Linked DNA regions of Homo sapiens: regions 1, 2 and 3 are each linked to region 4. Evidence: promoter capture Hi-C in 16 types of primary human blood cells and fetal thymus (Javierre and others, 2016). All regions are on one chromosome and are shown on one strand. Each heading gives the region's core, a stretch centred on a gene start or on the middle of the fragment in contact. The rest is flanking DNA. Distances are from core to core; before and after follow the strand shown. Region 1 overlaps TUBD1 (tubulin delta 1). Region 2 overlaps RPS6KB1 (ribosomal protein S6 kinase B1). Region 3 overlaps RPS6KB1 (ribosomal protein S6 kinase B1). Region 4 holds the start of PTRH2 (peptidyl-tRNA hydrolase 2).

Region 1 (5,335 bases), core at 75-2,574, 170 kb before region 4:
AATCTTGTCTTCTTTCCAAATAGAGTTTCATGTTAACTTTTTTTTTTTTTTGAGACAGAGTCTTGCTTTGTCGCCCAGGCTGGAGTGCGATGCACTGCAACCTCTGTCTGCCGGGTTCAAGCGATTCTCCCGCCTCAGCCTCCCAAGTAGCTGGGATTACAGGTGCCTGCCACAACGCCTGGCTAATTTTCATATTTTTAATAGAAACAGTGTTTCTATTAAGACCAAGACCATGTTGGCCAGGCTGGTCTTAAACTCCTGACCTCATGATCTGCCCACCTAGGCCTCCGAAAGTGCTGGGATTACAGGCGTGAGCCACCGTGCCTGGCTTATATTAACTTTCATGTTAACAGGGTTTGATTATCACCTAACCAGATACGGTATGTAAAAATCTAGTAACATTTCTAAAAGAGTATTTAGTAGGGTGGGTGCGGTGGCTCACACCTGTAATCCCAGTACTTTGGGAGGCCAAGGCAGGCAGATCATGAGATCAGGGGATCGAGACCATCCTGGCCACCATGGTGAAACCTCATCTCTACTAAAGTACAAAAAGTTAGCTGGGCTTGGTGGTACGTGCCTGTAGTCTCAGCTACTCAGGAGGCTGAGACGGGAATCGCTTGATCGTGGGAGGCAGAGGTTGCAGTGAGCCGAGATCACGCCACTGCACTCCTCCAGCCTGGCGACAGAACAAGACTCCATCCCAAAAAAAAAAAAAAAAAAAAAGAATATAACAATATTTAGTGAACATAGAATGACAAGAAAAGCATATCAGTTCTCATGTTTACTTTGTTTGCCTGGAGTTTACCTAAATATTTCATTCACATTTCCAGTTATTCAGCTTCTAAATTGTAGTTTGCTTTTTGGCAAAGTGTATTTTCTCACTCATGCTCAAGTCAGTGCTAAAATGAAGCAAAGAGGTGGTGTGTAATAGACATTGTCTCTGAAATTGTATTTATATTAAAGATTAAATAATTCTGGTCTGAGAAGAGAAAAAACATTTGGCCCAGAAAACCTTCAAATCATGGTTATATATAGACTATTGGCAACAATGTAGAATAAAAAAAAATTAGTTCAGATTTTTTTTTCTTTACAGGAGACTTAATGGAGCATTTAGTTCCCCATCCTGAATTCAAGATGCTGAGTGTTCGTAACATTCCTCACATGTCTGAGAATTCATTGGCATACACCACATTTACTTGGGCTGGCCTCCTCAAGCATTTGAGACAGATGCTCATTTCTAATGCAAAGATGGAAGAAGGTAAAGAGTAGTCCAAAAATATGCAGCCCACAAGCTGGAAAAAATGTCTGTCCTGGAGTCTCAATATAAACTGGCTTGGACCAGTTTAAATAATGGTCCCTTTTTCTGGCTAGAGAGACTCCGGCAGAAACTCACCAGGACATCTTAGGAGGGTTTCTTAATCACTTCACAGTTTCATTACCAAAAGACATTTCAAATGAGTGCCAGATTTTTTTTAAATTTTTATTTTAATCAAATAAGTGAACATAGTTTTAAAAATCAAGTAGCCAAAACTCATTTAAATATATACTTAAATCCATACATTGCACTGTATTTAAATTATATCTCAATTTTTTTTTTTTTTTTTTTTTGAGACTGAGTCTTGCTCTGTCGCCCAGGCTGGAGTGCAGTGGCGTGATCTCAGCTCACTGCAACCTCCGCCTCCCGGGTTCACACCATTCTCCTGCCTCAGCCTGCCGAGTAGCTGGGACTACAGGCGCCTGCCACCACGCCCGGCTAATTTTTTGTATTTTTAGTAGAGACGGGGTTTCACCGTGTTAGCCAGGATGGTCTCAATCTCCTGACCTCGTGATCCACCCGTCTTGGCCTCCCAAAGTGCTGGGATTACAAGAGTGAGCCACCGTGCCCGGCCAATTATATCTCAGTATTTTATTTTTTATTTATTTTATTTTTTTGAGATGGAATCTCGCTCTGTCACCCAGGCTGGAGTGCAGTGGCGCGATCTCGGCTCACTGCAACCTCTGCCTCCCGGATTCAAGCAGTTCTTCTGCCTCAGCCTCCCAAGGAGCTGGGATTACAGGCGTGTGCTACCATGCCTGGCTAATTTTTTTGTATTTTTAGTAGAGATGAGGTTTCACCATATTGGCCAGGCTGGTCTCGAACTCCTGACCTTGTGATCCACCCACCTCGACCTCCCAAAGTGCTGGGATTACAGGTATGAGCCACTGCGCCCGGCCTATATCTCAGTTTTTTAAAAGGTCAAGTAATGGGCCAGGTATGGTGGCTCATACCTATAATCCTAGCACTTTGGGAGGCCAAGGCAGGAGAAGCGCTTGAGCCCAGGAGTTCGAGACCAGTCTGGGCAACATGGCAAAACCCCATCTCTACAAGAAATATAAAAAATTATCTGGACATGGTGACATGGGCCTGTATTCCCAGCAACTTAGGAGGCTGAGGTGGGAGGATCACCTGAGCCCAGGAGGTCAAGGCTGCAGTGAGCTGTGATCACACAACTGCACTTCAGCCTGGGTGACAGAGTGAGACCCTTTCTCAAAAAAAAAACAACAACAAAAAACAACTTAAGTAATGTCTGGTATGAATTTATGACAAGGAAAAACAGCAATCCTACACCTCCCCATTACACAGATGAAACTACTTTCAACGTCTAGCTATTTCATCTACAATTTGCCTCCATAGTTATAAATGTCTTACTTATATTGTTATCTCTTGCATTCCTAGTGTGAAAATTGAGAATTGGCCTGGGCGCAGTAGCTCACGCCTGTAATCCCAGCACTTTGGGAGGTTGAGGTGGGTGGATCACCTGAGGTCAGGAGTTCGAGACCAGCCTGGGCAACATGGCGAAACCCCTTCTTTACTAAAAAATACAAAAAAATTAGCCGGGCGTGGTGGCAGTCGCCTGTAATTCCTGGGAAGCTGAGGCAGGAGAATTGCTTGAACCCGGGAGGCAGAGGTTACAGTGAGCTATGATAGTGCCATTGCATTCCAGCCTGGGTGATAACAGTGAAACTCCATCTCAAAAAAAAAAAAAATTGAGAATTGAATCATCTTACACCCCCTCTACACACACAGACACACACACACACACACACACACACACACACACATTCCCATTTTCATATATATACTGACACATGTGCACACTCACACACATACTCACACATACAAACACAATTACCTTCATTCTTCTAACATACTTGGGAGTTAGATCAGTTTTCAATGTTTGTACTACTTTTGCTATCTAAATATTATTCAGAGTAGAGCCTTGTGTACATAGATTATATTTTTTTGTGTGTACAGTTTATTTTTCCCTCCTGGAGTTGTTAATCATTATATTTATTCAGTTGATATTTTCTGTACCTATTACCAACTTATCCTGAAACTTTTCTGTAAAAAAATGAATCCCTTCTCAGATGTGATGGCTCACACCTGTAATCTCAGCACTTTGGGAGGCTAAGGCAGGAGGATCGCTTGAGGCCAGAAGTTCAAAACTAGCTTGAGCAACAAAGCAAGACCCCATCTCTAAAAAAATAATTTAAAAAAATTAGCTGGCCCGGCAGGGTGGCTCACGCCTGTGAGCCAGCACTTTGGGAGGCCGAGGCGGACAAGTTCAGAAGATCGAGACCATCCTGGCTAACACGGATGTAGTAGAAACCCCATCTCTACTAAAAATACAAAAAATTAGCGAGGCGTGATGGCACACACTTGTAATCCCAGCTACCCAAGAGGCTGAGGCAGGAGAGTGGCTTGAACTCAGGAGGCAGAGGTTGCAGCGAGCTGAGATCACACCCCTGCTCTCCAGCCTGGGCAACAGAGCGAGACTCTGTCTCAAAAAAAAAAATGCTGGGCATAGTGGTATGCACCTGTAGTCCTAGCTACTTGGGAGGGTGAGGCAGGAGAATCCCTTGAACCAAGGGATTTGAGTTTAAAATGAGCTGTGATCATGCCACTGCACTCCAGCCTGGGCAACAGAGCAAAACCCTGTCTCAAAAATAAAAAAAAAGAATTCTTTCTTAATATGTTTAAACCCATCAGGTAAGTGATTACTTCCATTATCTGCCTAGAGACATCTTCTGGAAGGCATTTATCTTCCCATTCCATTCTGGACTGACTGCTCTCTAGGCTTGATAAGCAGCCAGCCCTGGCATCTCTGCTTGCCTCATCCTGATTTATATCTGTACCTCCTAGATTTCAAATCTGCTTTCTTGATTTATTCCCTCATATTGATGGACCATACCTTTCAGGAGCTCCCTAAGAGAGTACAAGGAAATTAAAATGTTTGAGGCTACAAATATCTTCATTCTGGCCGGGTGCAGTGGCTCACACCTGTAATCCCAGCACTTTGGGAGGCCAAGGCAGGTGAAACATGAGGTCAGAGATCGAGACCATCCTTGCTAACATGGTGAAACCCCGTCTCTACTAAAAATACAAAAAATTAGCCAGGCATGGTGGCGGGCGCCTGTAGTCCCAGCTACTCAGGAGGCTAAGGCAGGAGAATTGCTTGAACTTGGGAGGCAGAGGGAAGTTGCAGTGAGCTGAGATCGTGTCACTGCACTCCAGCCTCGGCGACAGAGCGAGACCCTGTCTCAAAAATAAATAAATATCATAATTCTGTTCTGCCATTGCATTTGAATGATAGTTTGGCCAGGGATAGGATTCTAGGTTGGGAATCATTTTCTTTTTACTGAGTATTTCGAAGCCATTGCTCTATCATCTTCTCACTTGCAGCGTTGCTGTTGAGAAGTCTCAGGTTGTTCTGATTCCCAATCCTATTTTGTTATCTCTTGAAGCTTTTAGGATTTTCTCTTTGTCCCCAGCATTCTGAAAGTACTTGACATGGGTCTTTGGTTTATCTCAGTAGAAGGTAAGCTTTATTTAATCTATTTGGTTTACTGTTGCATCTTTGGAGCCTGGAACGGTAAACGCTCAGTGATTATTTGCTGAGTTAGTTGCTCCGGGCACTGAATGGACCCTTACGGACATTGCAGACTTGTGTGGGTTTCACAGTAAGGTGATCTGCCTGGCCATTTTATTGCTGGACTTCCAAATATCATACTCAGCGTATCTTATCTCTTGATCAGTTGCTTCCTCCTCCATCTCTTTCCTGAAGGCATGATAAGCCTGGCTGCCAGCCTTTTCAGAGCTGGACGGGGAAGACATGGACTGTTACACTTTCCTGCGAAAGCTGCTACTTCGTGACCTGGTTTTCCAAAGGTTCTCTACAGGGCTGTGCCAGGTGTCACTGAGGCCAGAGCCTCCCAGGTTTAGCCTTTTCACAGCAGAAACCTTCTAGGGTGGAAGAGCGCACTCCTCCTACTGCAGGGAGTGGGGAAGGGGCTC
Region 2 (5,325 bases), core at 1,413-3,912, 210 kb before region 4:
TTTTTCACTAGATACCTGTGCCAAAAACATACTTCACCCAAGATCTAATTATGCCTAATATGGTCAGGCCTGATTATCCGACATAAATAACACATCACAAGGAATGAATCAGTTAAGAATCTTGACCAGAGGCTGGGCGCAGTGGCTCACGCCCATAATTCCAGCACTTTAGGGGGCTGAGGTGGGCGGTCACTTGAGGTCAGGAGTTTGAGACCAGCCTGGCCAACATGGTGAAACCCTGTCTCTACCAAAAGTACAAAAATTAGCCAGGCGTGGTGGTACACACCTGTAGTCCCAGCTATTTGGGAGGCTGAGGCCCTAGAATCACTGGAACCCAAGAGGCAAAGGTTGCAGTGAGCTGAGAACGCTCCACTGCACTCCAGCCTGGGTGATGTAGTGAGACTCTGTTTCAAATAAAAGAAGAAATCTTGACCAGTACTTCTTTTCACATTTCTGGGACAAGCACTATTATGCTGCCTTCAATTCTATACCTAACATGTTTTACAGATTAAAAAATCATTAATCTAAAACAATTCCAACAGGAAAGTCAAATAGCTGATATCAATGTCAACCCACTGAAGAAGAAACTGATGTGAAGAATAGCTAGATGGCTTTTTAAAGACAATTACCAATAAAATTGTGGTCACAGTATTTGTTCCTCAGCTTTCAAACTGAGGAGTCATTTATACTGCTTAAATAAAAATCAGCAAGAAGGACCAAAGTTTTACAAGTCTTATAATTTTTTTAAAAAGTCACTTTGATTGTCTTTAAAGTAGTTCTCCACTGGAACTTTTGTTTTAAGACAGTGGAGGCCGGGCGCAGTGACTCATGCCTGTAATCCTAGCACTTTGGGAGGCCAAGAAGGGTGGATCACCTGCGGTCAGGAGTTCGAGACCAGCCTGGCCAACATGGCAAAGCCCTGTCTCTACTAAAAATACAAAAATTAGCTGGGTGTGGTGGCGGGCACCTGTAATCCCAGCTACTCAGGAGGTTGAGGCAGAAGAATCACTTGAACCCAGGAAAAAAAAAAAAGACAGTGGAATCTTTTCAGTAATCAATCCCAAACAAGAATAAGAAAACAAACACACACATAATCCATCAGTAAAACTAGAAGACATGTGGAATCCCACACCTGAAAAGACAGAGTGGGGATAAAGCAATGGTCCATGATGTAGCAGAGTGGGGTAAGATCAAACCTAAGTGCCTGCAAAGGGGAATACACAAAAGAAGTTGAATCTATCTATAGAACCCCAGCAAGGTTCAAACATTAGAGGAAAAATTAGAAGGAAGGGAAAAAATTAAAGGAACTGAAGACTGTAGAAGGCAGAAGGTGGAGTGCTAAAAACAGGGAGATCATCTACAAGTCTGTGTAAGGAACAGACAGACCAAAAAGGCTCCCATCTCCATACTAAGTCGAAGAACTAACCCTAGGAGAGTTAAATTCCCCGGGACAAAAAAAAAAAGTGAAAGATTAGATCCACAGAGTAAAGTACTAATGTAAAAACTCGAGTTTAGTGAAAGTCCGCGTGTTGAGAGGTAAGATCTCCATCTTCTCTCACTCAGCTCCAGAATGCTTTTTCCAGGCAAATGAATGGCAGAACTTTCTTAGCACCAACTGATCCTCCCCAGAAAAAAAAAGATCTACAGACAATATTTACTTATTTATTTATTTGAGATGGAGTCTCGCTCTTGTTGTCCAAGCTAGAGCACAATGGTGCAATCTTGGCTCACTGCAACCTCCACCTCCCAGGCTCAAGCGATTCTCCTGCCTCAGCGCCCCCAAACCAGCTGGCCAGGCTGGTTTTGAACTCCTGACCTCAGGTGATCAACCTGCCTCAGCCTCCGAAAGTGCTGGGATTACAGGCGTGAGCCACCACACCCAGCCCTACAGACACTATTATTTGAAGTTGTTGATCAAGTGCCAGCTAACCACTTGACTACCCTGCAGAGAAGCTTACACACACAGAACTTCTGATCAGCTTTTCAGAGTTCTACTCTTAAATATGAATAATCAGGCCAGGCGCAGTGGATGGGTTATTGAGGCCTAGGTGGACAGATCACTTGAGGTCAGGAGTTCGAGATCAGGCTGACAACATGGCGAAACCCTGTCACTACTAAAAATGCAAAAATTAGCCAGGCAGGGTGGCACATGCCTGTTATCCCAGCTACTTGGGTGGCTGAGGCACAAGAATCGCTTGAACCCAGGAGGTGGAAATTGCAGTGAGCCGAGACTGTGCCACTGCACTCCAGCCTAGACGACAGAGCAAGACTCCAACTCAAAAAAAAAAAAAAAAAAAAGAATAATCAGTGAATGACACCAGACATCTAAAGAAGGCCTCTAACATGGAACAAAGTGACTAAAACTGACTAAATCAAAGTCAAAGAAAACAGAAAGTCAAAAAAGAACATGCGTAAAACAAAAGAACATTTCAAATAATTATAATTAAACTCTCAGAGAGGCTGGGCGTGGTGGCTCACACCTGTAATCCCAGCACTTTGGGATGCCGAGGTGGACGTTTTGCCTGAGGTCAGGAGTTCAAGACCAGTCTGGCCAACATGATGAAACCCGATATCTGCTAAAAATACAAAAATTAGCCAGGTGTGGTAGCGGGCACCTGTAATCCCAGCTACTCAGGAGGCTGAGGCAGGAGAATCGCTTGAACGCAGGAGGCAGGGGTTGCAGTGAGCCAAGATCGCACCACTGCACTCAAACCTGCACGACAGAGTGAGACTCTTGTCTCAAAAAAATAATAATAAACATTAAAAAAAAATAAAACTCTCAGAGGGGTAAGAGAAGATATTATACTCATTAAACAGGTTGCTATAAAACAAAAACAACAGAAAGAATTCTGGAGAATCACAAATACAACAGCTTTAAAAAAAAATTTAGTCAAATGGCTGGGCACAGTGGCTTACGCCTGTAATCCCAGCACTTCAGGAGGCCAAGGCGGGCGGATCACCTAAGTCAGGAGTTCGAAACCAGCCTGACCAACATGGAGGAACCCTGTCTCTTCTAAAAATACAAAATTAGCCGGGCATGGTGGCACATGCCTGTAATCCCAGCTACTCGGGAGGCTGAGGCAGGGGAATCGCTTGAACCCAGGAGGCGGAGGTTGCGGTGAGCCAAGATTGCGCCATTGCACTCCAGCCTGGGCAACAAGAGCAAAACTCCATCTCAAAAAAAAATTGAGTAGAAGAAAGTAAACAAGACAAAGAAATGGAAACGTGGAAAAGATAAGAAAAATTAGATGATCGGTCCAGGAGATCCAACATCCAACTAATTGCAATTCCAAGAAGAGAAAACAGTGGGAAGGAAATTACCAAATAAATCACATAAGAAAATTTCCTAGAACTGAAAGACTAAAGCTTTAAGATTAAAAGAATAAAAATAGGCTGGGCACAGTGGCACATGCCTGTAATCCCAACACTTTGGGAGCCAAAACAGAACAACTGCTTGAGGCCAGGAGTTCCAGGCCAGCCGGGGAAACACAGGAAGACCTTGTCTCTACGAAACATTTTAAAAATGAACTGGGCGTGGTGGCATGCATCTGCAGTCCTAGCTACTCAGAAGTTGTGGCAGGAGGATCGCTTGAGCCCAGGAGTTACAGGTTACAGTGAAGTATGATCACACCACCACACTCCAGCCTGGGAAACAGAGTGAGACCCTGTCTCTTAAAAATAAATAAATTAATTAATTTAATTAAATAGGCCGGGCGCAGTGGGCCATACCTGTAATCCAATCCCAGCACTTTGGGTGGCCGAGGCGGGTGGATCACTTGAGCCCAGGAGTTCAACACCAGCCTGGGCAACATGGTGAGTGCCCATCTCTACATTTTTTTTTATTAGCCAGGCCTGGTGGTGCGTGTCTGTGGTCCCAGCTACTCAGGAGACTGAGGTGGGAGGATAGCTTGAGCCCAGGAATTTGAGGTTGCACTGAGCTATAATTGTGTCACCGCACTCCTGTCTAGGTGACAGGGCGAGACCCTATCTCAAAAACTAACTAAATAAAAATAATAATCAAAGTCAAAGCAACACACATCACTATAAAAACTTAGATCAGAAATAAAGAGAAAATCTTAAATATTTCCACAGAAAAAATAGGCCATGTGTAAACGACTGGGAATCAGAATGCCAAAGCACTTCAACAGAAACTCTCAAGAATAGAAGAAAACTGAGCAAAATTCTAAGTGAAAATAATTTTCAACTCCAATAACATAAACAATCAAGTAAATAAAAATGTAAAGAAATTCTCAAATATGCAATATGGATATATTTTTATTATAAATGTATCTTTATATACCTTGTCTGAGGGAGCCACTAGTATAGTGTCACCAAAACAAGGACATAAACTAAGAAAAAGGGAAAAAATGAAGATATGGGATCCAGGAAACAAAAGATCCAACACTGAAGGAGCCAAGAGGATTCCAGGGTTGTGGTGAAGAAAGAGTCCAGTCATAACAGTTGTGACTAAAGAGCTACCACTCCAGATGGGAACAGGTGGATAGAAAGTTCCTAAGATATGCCTCTGGGAAATAAATGGAACTGATAGATTATCTTATAAGCCTGATCAAAGAACATTAGACTGAAAGGTGTTTTACAAAGTTGTTGGAAGACATCAGAGGACAATAGTAGATTCAAAGAAAGCAAAACAAAATGAGAGGATGAGGATAAAGGAGGGTGAAGTAAACAAGAAACAAATCCTTAACTCGCATAAAAGAAAGTTAATACTGCCAGGCTCGGTGGCTCACGCCTGTAATCCCAACACTTTGGGAGGTCAAGGCGGGCCGATCCCCCGAGGTCAGGAGTTCGACACCAGCATGCCAATATGGCGAAACCGCATCTCTACTAAAAATACAAAAATTAGCCGGGTGTGGTGGTGGGCGCCTGTAATCCCAGACACTCAGGAAGCTGAAGCAGAGGAATCGCTTTAACCTGGGAGGTGGAGGTTGCAGTGAGCTGAGATCACGCCACTGCACTCCAGCCTGGGCAACAGAGTGAGGCTCCGTCTAAAAAAAAAAATTGAAAACTGCTGAATTAAAAAGATAGCAGTTGGCTGGGCATGGTGGCTCATGCCTGTAATCCCAGCACTTTGGGAGGCCAAGGCGGGCAGATCACCTGAGTTCGAGACCAGCCTAACCAACATGGAGAAACCCCATCTCTACTAAAAATACAAAATTAGCCGGGCGTGGTGGCACATGCCTGTAATCCCAGCTACTAGGGAGGCTGAGGCAGGAGAATCACTTGAACCTGGGAGGCGGAGGTTGTGGTGAGCCGAGATCACTCCACTGCACTCCAGCCTGGGCAACAAGAGCAAAACTCTGTCAC
Region 3 (5,693 bases), core at 1,062-3,561, 240 kb before region 4:
TTTTTTTTTGCACCATTGATTGATTTTTTAAAATCCACGTTTATTTTTCCTGTGTCTGAAGTGTTCTATGTAATGACATTGACTCTCTGAAACTGTCATTTTGAGTCGTTTCACCTTGCAGGATGCTCACACATCTCCCTCTCCACCTTTTTTGCCTTAAATTCATTAAAAGCATTGCTCTGTCATAGATTCATACGCAGGTGCTCTGGCCGTTTGGAGATCATGGGAAAAGCTTGTTTTTTGTATGGCCCAGAGTTCGGCTGTCGTATTGGAAGTGGTGCCGATGCTTCCCCACTCATTGTCACATCCATCTGCTCTATGCCACTTGTTTCCATTGGGTATTCCACAGGTGTCTGAGGATTTGCTGTGCTGGCCGAAGCACCTCTTCCCCAGAAATCCCCAGGAGAAAATTTGACTGGGCTTTAAGACAAGGAAGAGCTATCATTCATTTGCTTAAGGGTCATCTCAACAAGACATATTTCCTTTACGTTTAAAGGGAGTGGGGTAACATGACATTTATTTTCATTTAATTTTATTTTCACGTGGATTAGCACAAAGGCAAAAATTGAACCATCTCTCCCCCACCTAGATTAACTGCTAGAATTTCCTAACTGGTCTCTTTACCTCTACACCTGACCCCCAAAACCCTCAATGAGATATATATACATTTAAATGCGTATTATATATATCATTTTACTCTCCCCTGCTCAAAACAGCTTTCTATTGCATTTAAAATAAAATACTTTTCCAAACCTCTGCCCTTCTCCTCACTCACCACACACTCCAGGAACACTGATTTCCCTTTCACTTCCAGGAAAAGGGCAACTTTTCTCCTCCCTCAGGGTTTTTGCATTTGCTGTTCTTCTGCCTGCAACATTCTTATACCTCCTATTTTTGTAGGGCTGGCTCTTTCCGTTCACTGCTAGATGTTACTACACCAGGGAGGCCTTTCTCTGATCACTGTGAGTAGAAGCCCCCTTGTTTTTCCTCTGCTCTCTACCAGTACATTCTTTTTTTCCCCTTTTAAATTATAGCACTTTGCACTACTTGTAATTATATTTTTGTATATCCTTTGTCTATTGTGACTTTCCCACTAAATTGTAAGCTTCATCAGGACAGGGACAATTCCTGTATTATAGTACTATATAGATACACACACATAACATGCAGTATGTAGTGCTGGTGCTCTTGGTGCACAATAAATGCTGAGTGAATGGATAAAGAGGACATTTGCCAGTATGGCTGCTTACTTTTGGGAGGGAAGGTAAACCATATAACATCATAGATTAGTCAGACTAGTCCTTTGCAATGTAAGATATAGATGCTGTGCTTATGTCAACCAAAGAGAGTATGACAGTCTTTCATTTATATAACTTGGCATAAACTTCTTAAGCAAACACTCTTGTAGGTTGTTTAAAAACAAAAAAAAGTGAAAATAAGAGTGTGAAATACCTGACAGGTGTTCGTGGGCTGCCAATAAATCTTCGAGGTGATCGGATTTTTGGTTCAAAGGAAAACTTTTCTTTCACACTTTCAAGTACAGATGGAGCCACATATGTAAAACCCTGAAAGACAGTAACAGTGGACTACAGAATGGCATTTTGTCATGTATCTCAAGAGAATGGGGTTGTTCAGTCTGACATACCTACACAATGATGCACACCTAAAACCACCAATGTGTACACTCTCCCACGTCCTCAACCTCATTTTTAGACCCGTTAACTTCTTTCCAGCCATTTCGTGAGGCACACACTTCAAGAAAGCAGAATTCCATTGAGCCTGATATGCTAGCAAACAAAATTCTACCCTACTGACAGGAATAGAAAAAAAAACAGGAAAATTCAGGCTCCATATGAAGATGTTAAATACGCCCAGGCACGGGGGCTCACGCCTGTCATCCCAGCACTTTGGGAGGCCAAGGCGGGCAGACCACCTGAGGTCAGGAGTTAAAGACCAGCCTGGCCAATGTGGTGAAACACCGTCTCTACTAAAAATACAAAAATACACCACCATGCATGGTGGTGCACGCCTGTAATCCCAGCTACTCGGGAGGCTGAGGCAGGAGGATCACTTGAACCTGGTAGGTGGAGGTTGCAGTGAGCAGAGATCGCACCACTGCATTCTAGCCTGGGCAACAGAGTAAGACTCCATCTCAAAAATTAAAAAAAAAAAAAAAAAAGATGTTAAATACTAGGAGAAATGTAAAGAAACTTCTAGTGTTTCTAGCCACAGGCATATAAGCAATTAAGTTTATCACCCTAAAACAGTTTCTTATAATCAGACCAAAGTAAAAACAATTTTCTGACTTGGCATCAAAGTCAGATCTTGTGATCTTTCTGGTTTTACGCCAATGATTGGACAGAATTCGTTTTTTGTTTTGTTTTAAGAGATGGGGTATCCCTATATTGCCCAGGCTGGAGTGCAGTGGTGATAACATAGCTCACTGCAGCCTCAAACTCCTGGACCCAAGCTATTCTCCCACCTCAGCCCCTCAAGTAGCTGTGACTATATAGGCACGTGTGATCTCTGCCCAGCTAGAATTTGGTGTTTTCTTGATGAATAAGTATCAACATTTCAAAAACCTTCAGTTGTAATAGGCAAAAATGCAGTTTTGTTCATTTTAGTTCTCTCTTGGATCTTACTATTAGGCTACCAGCTGTCATTTCTCTAGCTGTCAATGTTCATTCTTTTAACCATCTTCACCTATCTTCTATTTATCAAAATCTATGAGTAAGCATTATGTGTTACAATAAATAAGACTCAGCAAAGCTCTGAGTGAAGTCCCAAAGAGTGAGGTGCAATTCTGAAGTGCATATGATTTGTGACAGTTATATGTGAACTTCAGAGAATAATTTTACAAACGTTCTGGTGGACTAAAGCTGTAACTACCAAGAGGTACAGGCTGTGCCTTAATCATCTTTGAATTTCCTCTAATTCTGTGATGGGGTCTTACAACAGGAATTAAAATATTTGTTGAAATGAGGTTGCTAGAACCACATTATCCAGATAAGTGGGATGTCACTATATGTGTGTGTGTATGTATGTGTGTATATATATATATGTGTATATATATATATATAATTTTTTTTTTTTTTTTGAGATGGATTCTAGCTCTGTCGCCCAGGCTGGAGTGCAGTGAGGGGCGTGATCTCAGCTCATTACAACCTCCTCCTCCCGGGTTCAAGCGATTCTCCTGCCTCAGCCTCCCGAGTAGCTGGGACTACAGCCATCATGCCTGGCTAATTTTTGTATTTTTAGTAGAGATGGGTTTTCACCATATTAGCCAGGCTGGTCTGGAACTCCTGACCTTGTGATCCGCCCACCTCAGACTCCCAAAGTGCTGGGATTACAGGCGTGAGCCACTGCACCTGACCTATTTTTTTTTATTAATGTTTAAAGAGATCCACTTTATGTAGAGAATTCTGGCTACAACCTAACAAATGAGTTGCTCTATTCATTAGCCAATTTAAGTAATTGTGAAAAGCTCAACAATACTTTAACTGGCAACGAAAGCTTCAATATCTCACTTTTACCACCACAACTTTGGATTTCTTGGCAGCTAAATAAAATGCTTCTATTTTGTGGGGGGAAAACTGTCACATAAGTTGAAATTCTGCAATGTCCAATTGAGGAAAAGGTCTCTATGTTAAATCAAAGGTATAAATTCCACATCTGTAGTACATGAGAGAAAAAAAATGCCAAAATTAAAGTGATTCATGCCCACTTCCCTAACTGAACCTAAGATTTTACTAACAGAGATGCCGTAACTTTGATCATGCACACATCAAACTTGAATTTAAAAACATGCATGCACTCACTCATCTTTTATCTCTTATGTAATACTGTAAGACTATATTTTGCCTATGTGCTCTATATTAATTTATAGGATTATTACTATTCAGTGTTGTTTACTCAAAACCATACTGTACTATACACAACTTTTGCATCCCATACTAACTTAATTTTTTTAATTAATTTTTTTTTTTTTGATACGGAGTCTCACTCACTCTATCGCTCAGGCTGGAGTGCAGTGGCACAATCTTGGCTCCTGCAACCTCTGCCTCCCGGGTTCAAGTGATTCTCCTGCCTCAGCCTCCCAAGTAGTTGGTACCACAGGTGCATGCCACCACACCTGGCTAATTTTTGTACTTTTAGTAGAGATGGGGTTTCACCATGTTAGCCAGGCTGGTCTTGAACTCCTGACCTCAAGGTTATAGCCATAAGCCACCATGCCCCAACTCCATGCTAACTTTAGAGCTTATTTCCCATCCCATAAGATACAACACTACTTGTATTACATAGTGAGCAATGTGGGGAAGAAAAGCTTAAGAATTAAGTTAGTGACAAATCCAGTGAACTCAAAAACAGGGAAAAAACACTCCCAAACAATTATTTTCCCCATATTCTATTCTCCCTAGAGTAGTCCAAAAACAAATGACAAAAGAAAAAAAAAGGATACAAAATGAGATAGATGTTCATGTGACATATTAAGTACAGTAATAAAATCAACAAGCATATGTGCTATTTGAGCAAAATAGTATGCATTCATGGTCTTCTGATATAAATCCATCATTTCTGTTGGCCAACATCAAAAACCTTTACTTTTCTGAGGAGACAAGCTATAAATCTATACAGACATTTCTACAATGAGAATTCACTATTACATATGAACCAATATGTTTTGATGTCAAATATTCACAATTAATGTTAAAAAAATCCCCTACTTGGCCTGGCACGGTGGCTCATGCCTGTATTCCCAACACTTTGGGAGGCCAAGGCGGGTGGATCACGAGGTCAAGAAATCGAGACCATCGACTGGGCGTGGTGGCTTACGCCTGTAATCCCAGCACTTTGGGAGGCCAAGGCGGGCGGATCATGAGGTCAGGAGATCAAAACTATCCTGGCTAACACGATGAAACCCCGTCTCTACTACAAATACAAAAAATTAGCCTGGCGTGGTGGCGGGCACCTGTAGTCCCAGCTACTCAGGAGGCTGAGGCAGGAGGATGGTGTGAACCCGGGAGGTGGAGCTTGCAGTGAGCTGAGATTGCGCCACTGCACTCCAACCTGGGCGACAGAGCGAGACTCCTTCTCAAAAAAAAAAAAAAAAAGAAATCGAGACCATCCTGGCCAACATGGTGAAACCCTGTCTCTACTAAAAATACAAAAATTAACTGGGCGTGGTGGCGCACGCCTATAGTCCCAGCTACTCGGGAGGCTGAGGCAGGAGAATCACTCGAACCCAGGAGGCAGAAGTTGCAGTGAGCTGAGATCGCGCCACTGCACTCCAACCTGGTGACAGAGCAAGACTCCGTCTCAAAAAAAAAAAAAAAAATCCCCTACTTATGTTAAGAGTACCAAAAATAGGGCCAGGAACGATGGCTCATGCCTATAATTTTGGCACTTTGGGAAGCCAAGGCAGGAAGATAGCTTGAGTCCAGGAGTAAAATAGTGAGACTCTGTCTCTACAAAAAAATAAAAAATTAGCTGCATGTGGCACACACCTGTGGTACAGGTACTCACAAGGCTGAAATGGGTGGATCACTTGAGCCTGGGAGGTCAAGGCTGCAGTGAACTGTGATCACACCACTACACTACACCCAGCCTAGGCTACAAGGTGAGACCCTGTCTCAAAAAAAAAAAAAAAAAAAGTACCAAAAATCTATAGCTGTTTCAGGAATAAAATACATGTA
Region 4 (6,106 bases), core at 1,894-4,393:
CTAAACTAGCTAAAGAGGGAAAAAAAGTTTGTAAATAAGGCTTATGTGCGTATGTGTGTATTTACGTGTGTATGTGGATAGATCCCTTTAATACCTAAGAGTAATTATTTTCATGTGAACTTGGAAATATTACCAAACCATAATAAGATGCCTGGATACAACCTTGTTAGAACAGAAAGAACACTTGAGACCTTACAGTTCAGGTTCTAGCACTACCTAAGCCAGATGACCTCAAGCAAGCCAATTACTAATTACTGATTGTTTCTGAGCCTTAATTTTCTCCTCTGTTAAATGGGAATCTACTTATACATTCACAGAGATTCCTTCTAATTCTAAATATTGGTTTCAGTGAAATAATAATGTTTCTTTTTTTTTTGAGACGGAGTCTGGCTCTGTCTCCCAGGCTGGAGTGCAGTGGCGCAATCTCGGCTCACTGCAAGCTCCGCCTCCTGGGTTCGCGCCATTCTCCTGCCTCAGCCTCCGGAGTAGCTGGGATTACAGGCGCCTGCCACCACGCCCGGCTAATTTTTTGTATTTTTAGTAGAGACAGGGTTTCACTGTATTAGCCAGGATTGTCTCGATCGCCTGACCTCGTGATCCGCCCAACTCGGCCTCCCAAAGTGCTGGGATTACAAGCGTGAACCACCGCGCCCGGCCCAATAATAAGGTTTCTTATTTAATGTAAGTAAGATAGGACTACTTCTACTCTTTAGTTAACTATACGTAGGCAAAAAACTTCAGCTTTTTCTGCACTTGGAAGTTCTGAAGTGACAATACATGACGACCAAAAAGGATCAGATTTAAACTCCCGAATGCAAAACTATACTCATTTTCCAGGAACCTATTTATTAACCATGGTGACTAATTCAATGGATCACGGTATCAAACTATTCTTTGCTAACTTTCAAAGGTGGGGCAAAGATCATCTCAGAAAAGTATGTGATAATATTTTCAGATAATGATGCAAAGTAACAGTATTCTACACTGACATATCTCCAGTTCTAAGAGTAAAGTGATACCATATTTTCATATTTAATAATTTCATGTTTACTAGCTCATTTAATCTTTGTGACAGTTGTATGAAAGAAAGTGAGCAGAATTTTTATCAACACAATCTAGACCAGCTCAGAATGTTAGGTAACCTATCAGCCATTACTTAACAAGTGTTGGAGCCCAGACTTCAATCCAGGTCTTCTGATTTAAAGTTTAATAGTTACCAAAATCCTAAAAAGTGGTGATTCAAGCCAAAAGCGAGAAGTTGGAAAAGTGAGAAAAACTGGATAATCAGTCCTTCAATTGAACATAAAGAAGATAAGATCAGATTTGGCAGTTATATAATCAAGAAGCAAATTTACCGAATGTTAAACTAATGATACATCTATCATAATTCCATATCTCAAATTTTGTCACCTTGTTTCAAAGCCAAGCGTGAACAAATTTTCAAACTCAAAATAAGAAAAATATGTAAACTGACAAACTGATTTAACTAGCTATAGGTAAACTGGTAAAAGGCATCATGGTTCTATGTATATTTTCTTCTGGAATGTGACTCATAGAAATTAAACTGTATTAATCAATTGTAATCAAGTAGGATATATCCCTCAAAGGAAAAAAGTAACCTTCAGTGCCTTAAGATAATGTAGGCAAAGTAGTAAAATATAAAATTTCTACTCGAGAGAGTCACTTCATACCTACACAAATCAGTCACATTTGTCTAGGTACCACCATCCCTCTTCCACAGTAAAAACATAAGCTACAATGCATACAATGATGCCTAGTAAGTAAGTTTCTTCCTTTCATCATCTATGCTAAGAATACACAACTAAAATCAGAGCTAATGACAATACAATTACTAGGTAGTAGCAACTGGAATATTAAATTCTATCATGACAACACCAGAAACACTTGTACAAGCTTCTTCAAATGATCAATGTAATCTGTCCACAAAAATCTCTGACAAGCCCCAAAGTAGAAATGAAAGACGTTAACATTAGGATAAGGAGCGATGCTGCCAAAACACATCAACAGTGGCCAGTCTACGTGTATTATTAGATTTTTACATGGAGTTGCAGGTAAATAAAAGATGATTGTGTAAAATCTTCTGGAGGTCATAAGTAATCTAGCAGTGTGACACAGGGCCACATATGGTTTCTGGAATTTTAGAGATTAAGTCGACCTTCACGTTTTACTGCAAATACCTCCACTGTAATAAGATATAGAGGTCGGGGTTCAGGGGTTTGGAAAGGCAGACAACTCTTTTTCATTAAAGCAGTGAAAAATCTGAGAAGTTCCTCTCCAAGGGCTCTGCGGAGCGAAGGCCCATTCCCTTGGCTACCCTGTACCACCAGAGCTTTAGATGGCACTTGCACGCCTGGATTTCGTTTAGGAGCGAATACATCTAGCATCATGCGCCAGAGGTTCGGGAGAGCAAAAACCAAACTGACAGATCCTGAGAAATAGCTCAGTCATCAGCAGGGAAGACCTTCTCCACTTACTCCAAGGTCCTGGACATCCCGGGACTAAGAGGTTCTCTAAAGAAGCCTAGCAAGGCTTCCAAGTACGCGGAGAGGAGAACGAACAGCCCGGTGTCTGGGTTCAATGTCCGGGTGACCAACCATGAGAAGGTGTCCCAAATAACCTGGCTACCGCCAGCGTGAGACATCCAGGGTGAGACATCCAGTCAGCAGCGTCCTAAAACACTGCTGGAAGTCGGAATCACAGTGCCCCAGATCCGCAATGCCTAAGTGGGAGAGCTCCGGAAGACGCCAAGCTCTGAGGACAGCCTCAGGCTTCGGTCCCCAATTCCCTGAGTTAGTTTACCTACCCGCTCCGACCCCGGCTGCTCCGGATCTCAGGATCCTGGAAGCTGCTCCTTACGGACTCTCACACCCGCCGCTGGGCTCCAGACAACCGGAACCCGCTCACGTCACTTCCGGTCCGGTCCCTCTGCCCCCTGAGACAGCCTCCAGAAGGGATACGTTCCTCCCTCCTTTCGGCGAGCTCGGTTGATCCTCGCGGGATTTCAGTTAGGCTCTTAGTGCGGGCCCTGTGGGTGTGGCAAGAGGAAGAATGACTGCTCGCTTTGTGATTCTTGATCCGGAACTTGTCACCCAGGAACCCCGGAAGAGGTAGCTCACGCGATAGAAACGTGTTCGCTGCCCAGAAGAAGGGAAGGCGCGAGTGAGGAAAGGAGGTACTGTAGGTAGGTTGGTTGGCTCCTTACAGGGCGAAGGAGACCAATATCATTATTCATTTTCTCGCCAGTAGGAACGTTTCTTTTCACCTCGTTGCATTACCCACCTTCTTCATTTTCTCCTTTATAAACTGTCTTCCGCCCAGGGGCCGCTGAGCCCTCTGTTCCTGTTCTGCGAACCGTCCTTTGGAGGAAAGGAACAGGCTGCTGGGGAGGGGAAGACTCAGAATTTCTAGTTCCCAGCAAAGCCTCCAGGCAGGCAGTATCGATGCGCTCTCTCCGAAATTGATAAAATAGCGAGCAGGCCTCATACCCTCAGCTGGGCACTTATGAATATCCCCAGCGTTTCGAGCTGTCGAGCTCTGCGTGGAAAGAATTGGTTTCTAAGAATATAGTCGAAAATTTGGGGCCGGGCGCGGTGGCTGACGCCTGTAATCCCAGCACTTTGGGAGGCTGATGTGGGCGGATCACCTGAGGTCAGAAGTTCGAGACCATCCTGGCCAACATGGCGAAAACCCATCTATACTAAAAATACAAAAATTAGCCGGCGTGGTGGCGCGTGCCTGTAATCCCAGCTACTCGGGAGGCTGAGGCAGGAGAATGACTTGAACTCGGGAGGCGGAGGTTGCAGTGAGCCGATATCGCTCCATTGCTCTCCAGCCTGGGCGACAGAGTGAGACTTCGTCTCAGAAAAAAAAAAAAAAGAAAGAAAAAATTTCCCCCCTTTTTCACACAAAGAGATTAACTAGAGAGGTATTAATCCTTACTGACATACCCCAGGCACCATACTAGACTCTGGGAATATGTTATACAGGGAAAGTGGGGCAGTGGCTTAAGGGTCAGAGAAGATTTGGGAAAGGTTTGTTTGTTTTTTTCGGTTGTAAACTGCAGACCCGGCGCGGTGGCTCAGCCTGTAATCCAACACTTTGGGAGGCTGAGACAGGAGGATTGCTTGAGCCCAGGAGTTTGAGAACAGCCTGGGCCACATAGGGGGCCACATAGTGAGACCCTGTCTCTTAAAAAAAGATTAACGGGTGGAGCATGGTGCAGAAGGAGGTAATGGGATCAAGAGCACTACTGAAATGGGTTTACTGAGGCAGGGGAATTAGAAGGCACCAAGAAGAAGATTTTATAGGATGTACTTATTTTGTTCTGCTGTCATTGCCCAGAATTATTTATGAGACAAAGAATGGTTATTTGTTTTACCTTAGTCTTAGGCACTAGGCTTATTGATACGCTTGTCGTAAGTGTACAGAAAAAGAGACAGACATGTTGTTTTAGAGGAGTTAGATGATAATCTGATCAGATTAATATGAGATTAGAACATCCTAAAGAACAAAAATATGTGTTAATTTTAGCATTTTTATGATTAGACACTCCATTGAGATATGGGACATAATAAATAAACTTGGTAACTTTTGGAACTTTCACTGTCCTGTTTTTGATCTTATTGGGTTTTTTTTTTTTTTTGGAGACAGGGTTTTGCATTGTTGTCCAGCCTGGGGTGCAGTGGCACGATCATGGCTCACTGCAATTTCCACCTCCCAGCCTGAGGTGTCCTCCTACCTTATCCCCTGAGTAGCTGGGAGTATGGGCATGTGGCACCACATCTGGCTAATTATTTAAATTTTTTGTAAAGATGAGGTCTCACTGGGTTGCCCAGATTGGTTTTGAACTGGACTCGAGATGCTGCTGCCTCGACCTCAAGCAACTCCTTGAGGCCAGGAGTTCCAGACCAGCCTGGGCAACATAGCAAGACCAAGTCCATACAAAAATAAAAAATTTTTAAAAAATCAGGAGGGTGTGGTGGCATGCACCTGTAGTCCCATCTACTTGGAAGGCTGAGGTAGGAGAATTGCTTAAGCCCAGGAGTTTGAGGCTGTAGCGAGCTATGATCATGCCACTGAACTCTAGCCTGGGTGACAGAGGGAGACCCCTTCTCTTTAAAAAAAAATAAAGAAAAAGGCAACTTCTCTGTTTGATCCTCATATTTCTCATCTTTAAAATGAGGCTAATATATCTTCCTTTTTATGTGTTCATAGCAACAATAAATGAGGTAATGGATATAAAGGATTTAGTATGTTATCCAGCACATAATAGCTTCTCTATGTAGAGCAGTTCCTTCTCCAGATAGTACCGGAATGTAGTGTATGGGATATTTGGTTACTTTGCAGCCTAGAAATTATTTCAGAGAATCCTAATTGCTGACATTGCATATTTGTTCAGTTTGGAGTCTGGTTGTTAGATTATCAAAGAAAAGTCCTGCTGATATGTAAGCATCAAATAGAAACTTGGCCAGGCATGGTGGCCCATGCCTGTATCCCAGCACTTTGGGAGGCTGAGGCAGGCAGATCACTTGAGGTCAGGAGTTCGAGACCAGCCTGGCCAACATGGTGAAACCCCGTCTCTACTAAAAATACAAAAATTAGCCAGGTGTGGTGGCGGGTGCCTGTAATCCCATGTACGTGGGAGGCTGAGGCGGGAGAATTGCTTGAACCCGGAGGCAGAGGTTGCAGTGAGCTGAGATGGCGCCACTGCACTCCAGCCTGGGTGACAAAGTGAGATGCCGTCTTAAGAAAAAAAAAAGAATTCTCTGTCTTTGTCTCTTTTAGGGGGTGGGGGCTGTAAAGGCACTAGAACCATAAATACTATGTCTGTGCAGCCCTGTCACCGTATTTAGGCACTTGAGTGGAAGAGCACTGAAACTAGGTGCACTACAGCTTACCCTATGTGACCCTCCTACTCCTGGCCACTCCATGTCAGTCTCCTTTGATTCCTAATGTTCATTTCCTCAGGATTATGTTTTAGTCCTTTCTTCATTCTACATATTTGTCCAAGTGGCCTCATACTCTTCCATCTCTTCAGTAACTTCAATTATATGGTAAGGTCTCTCAAATCTATATTTCCAGCCCA

The links. Contacts are between HindIII fragments. The CHiCAGO score rates a contact against its expected background, and 5 or more counts as called.
Region 1: a fragment that was not itself captured here is called in contact with the fragment with the promoter of PTRH2 in region 4 in 8 of 17 cell types (activated CD4 T cells, monocytes, M2 macrophages and 5 more); the score reaches 13.5 in activated CD4 T cells.
Region 2: a contact is called between a fragment that was not itself captured here and the fragment with the promoter of PTRH2 in region 4, in 1 of 17 cell types (activated CD4 T cells). The highest score is 9.1, in activated CD4 T cells.
Region 3: a fragment that was not itself captured here is called in contact with the fragment with the promoter of PTRH2 in region 4 in 1 of 17 cell types (activated CD4 T cells); the score reaches 6.1 in activated CD4 T cells.

Annotation. Positions count from the first base shown.
Region 1 is chr17:59,870,462-59,875,796 of GRCh38, reverse strand. It overlaps TUBD1 (tubulin delta 1), which reads left to right. Exons shown (of 9, transcript NM_016261.4): 6 at 1,094-1,258. Among named protein-coding and RNA genes, the nearest start is that of TUBD1, 20 kb to the left of the region's middle. The HindIII fragment of the contact is 6,927 bases long and covers 1-4,787 here.
Region 2 is chr17:59,915,803-59,921,127 of GRCh38, reverse strand. The region is part of intron 4 of RPS6KB1 (ribosomal protein S6 kinase B1); the gene reads right to left. Among named protein-coding and RNA genes, the nearest start is that of RPS6KB1, 25 kb to the right of the region's middle. The HindIII fragment of the contact is 1,413 bases long and covers 1,956-3,368 here.
Region 3 is chr17:59,941,278-59,946,970 of GRCh38, reverse strand. RPS6KB1 (ribosomal protein S6 kinase B1) reads right to left here. Exons shown (of 15, transcript NM_003161.4): 14 at 1,453-1,565; 15 at 1-420. The coding sequence ends at 183. Among named protein-coding and RNA genes, the nearest start is that of RNFT1, 21 kb to the left of the region's middle. The HindIII fragment of the contact is 2,408 bases long and covers 1,108-3,515 here.
Region 4 is chr17:59,704,467-59,710,572 of GRCh38, reverse strand. PTRH2 (peptidyl-tRNA hydrolase 2) reads left to right here and starts at 3,143. Exons shown (of 2, transcript NM_016077.5): 1 at 3,143-3,202. It overlaps VMP1 (vacuole membrane protein 1), which reads right to left and starts at 2,919. Exons shown (of 12, transcript NM_030938.5): 1 at 2,825-2,919. RefSeq lists enhancers at 2,814-2,873, 2,674-3,329. The HindIII fragment of the contact is 5,892 bases long and covers 1,917-6,106 here.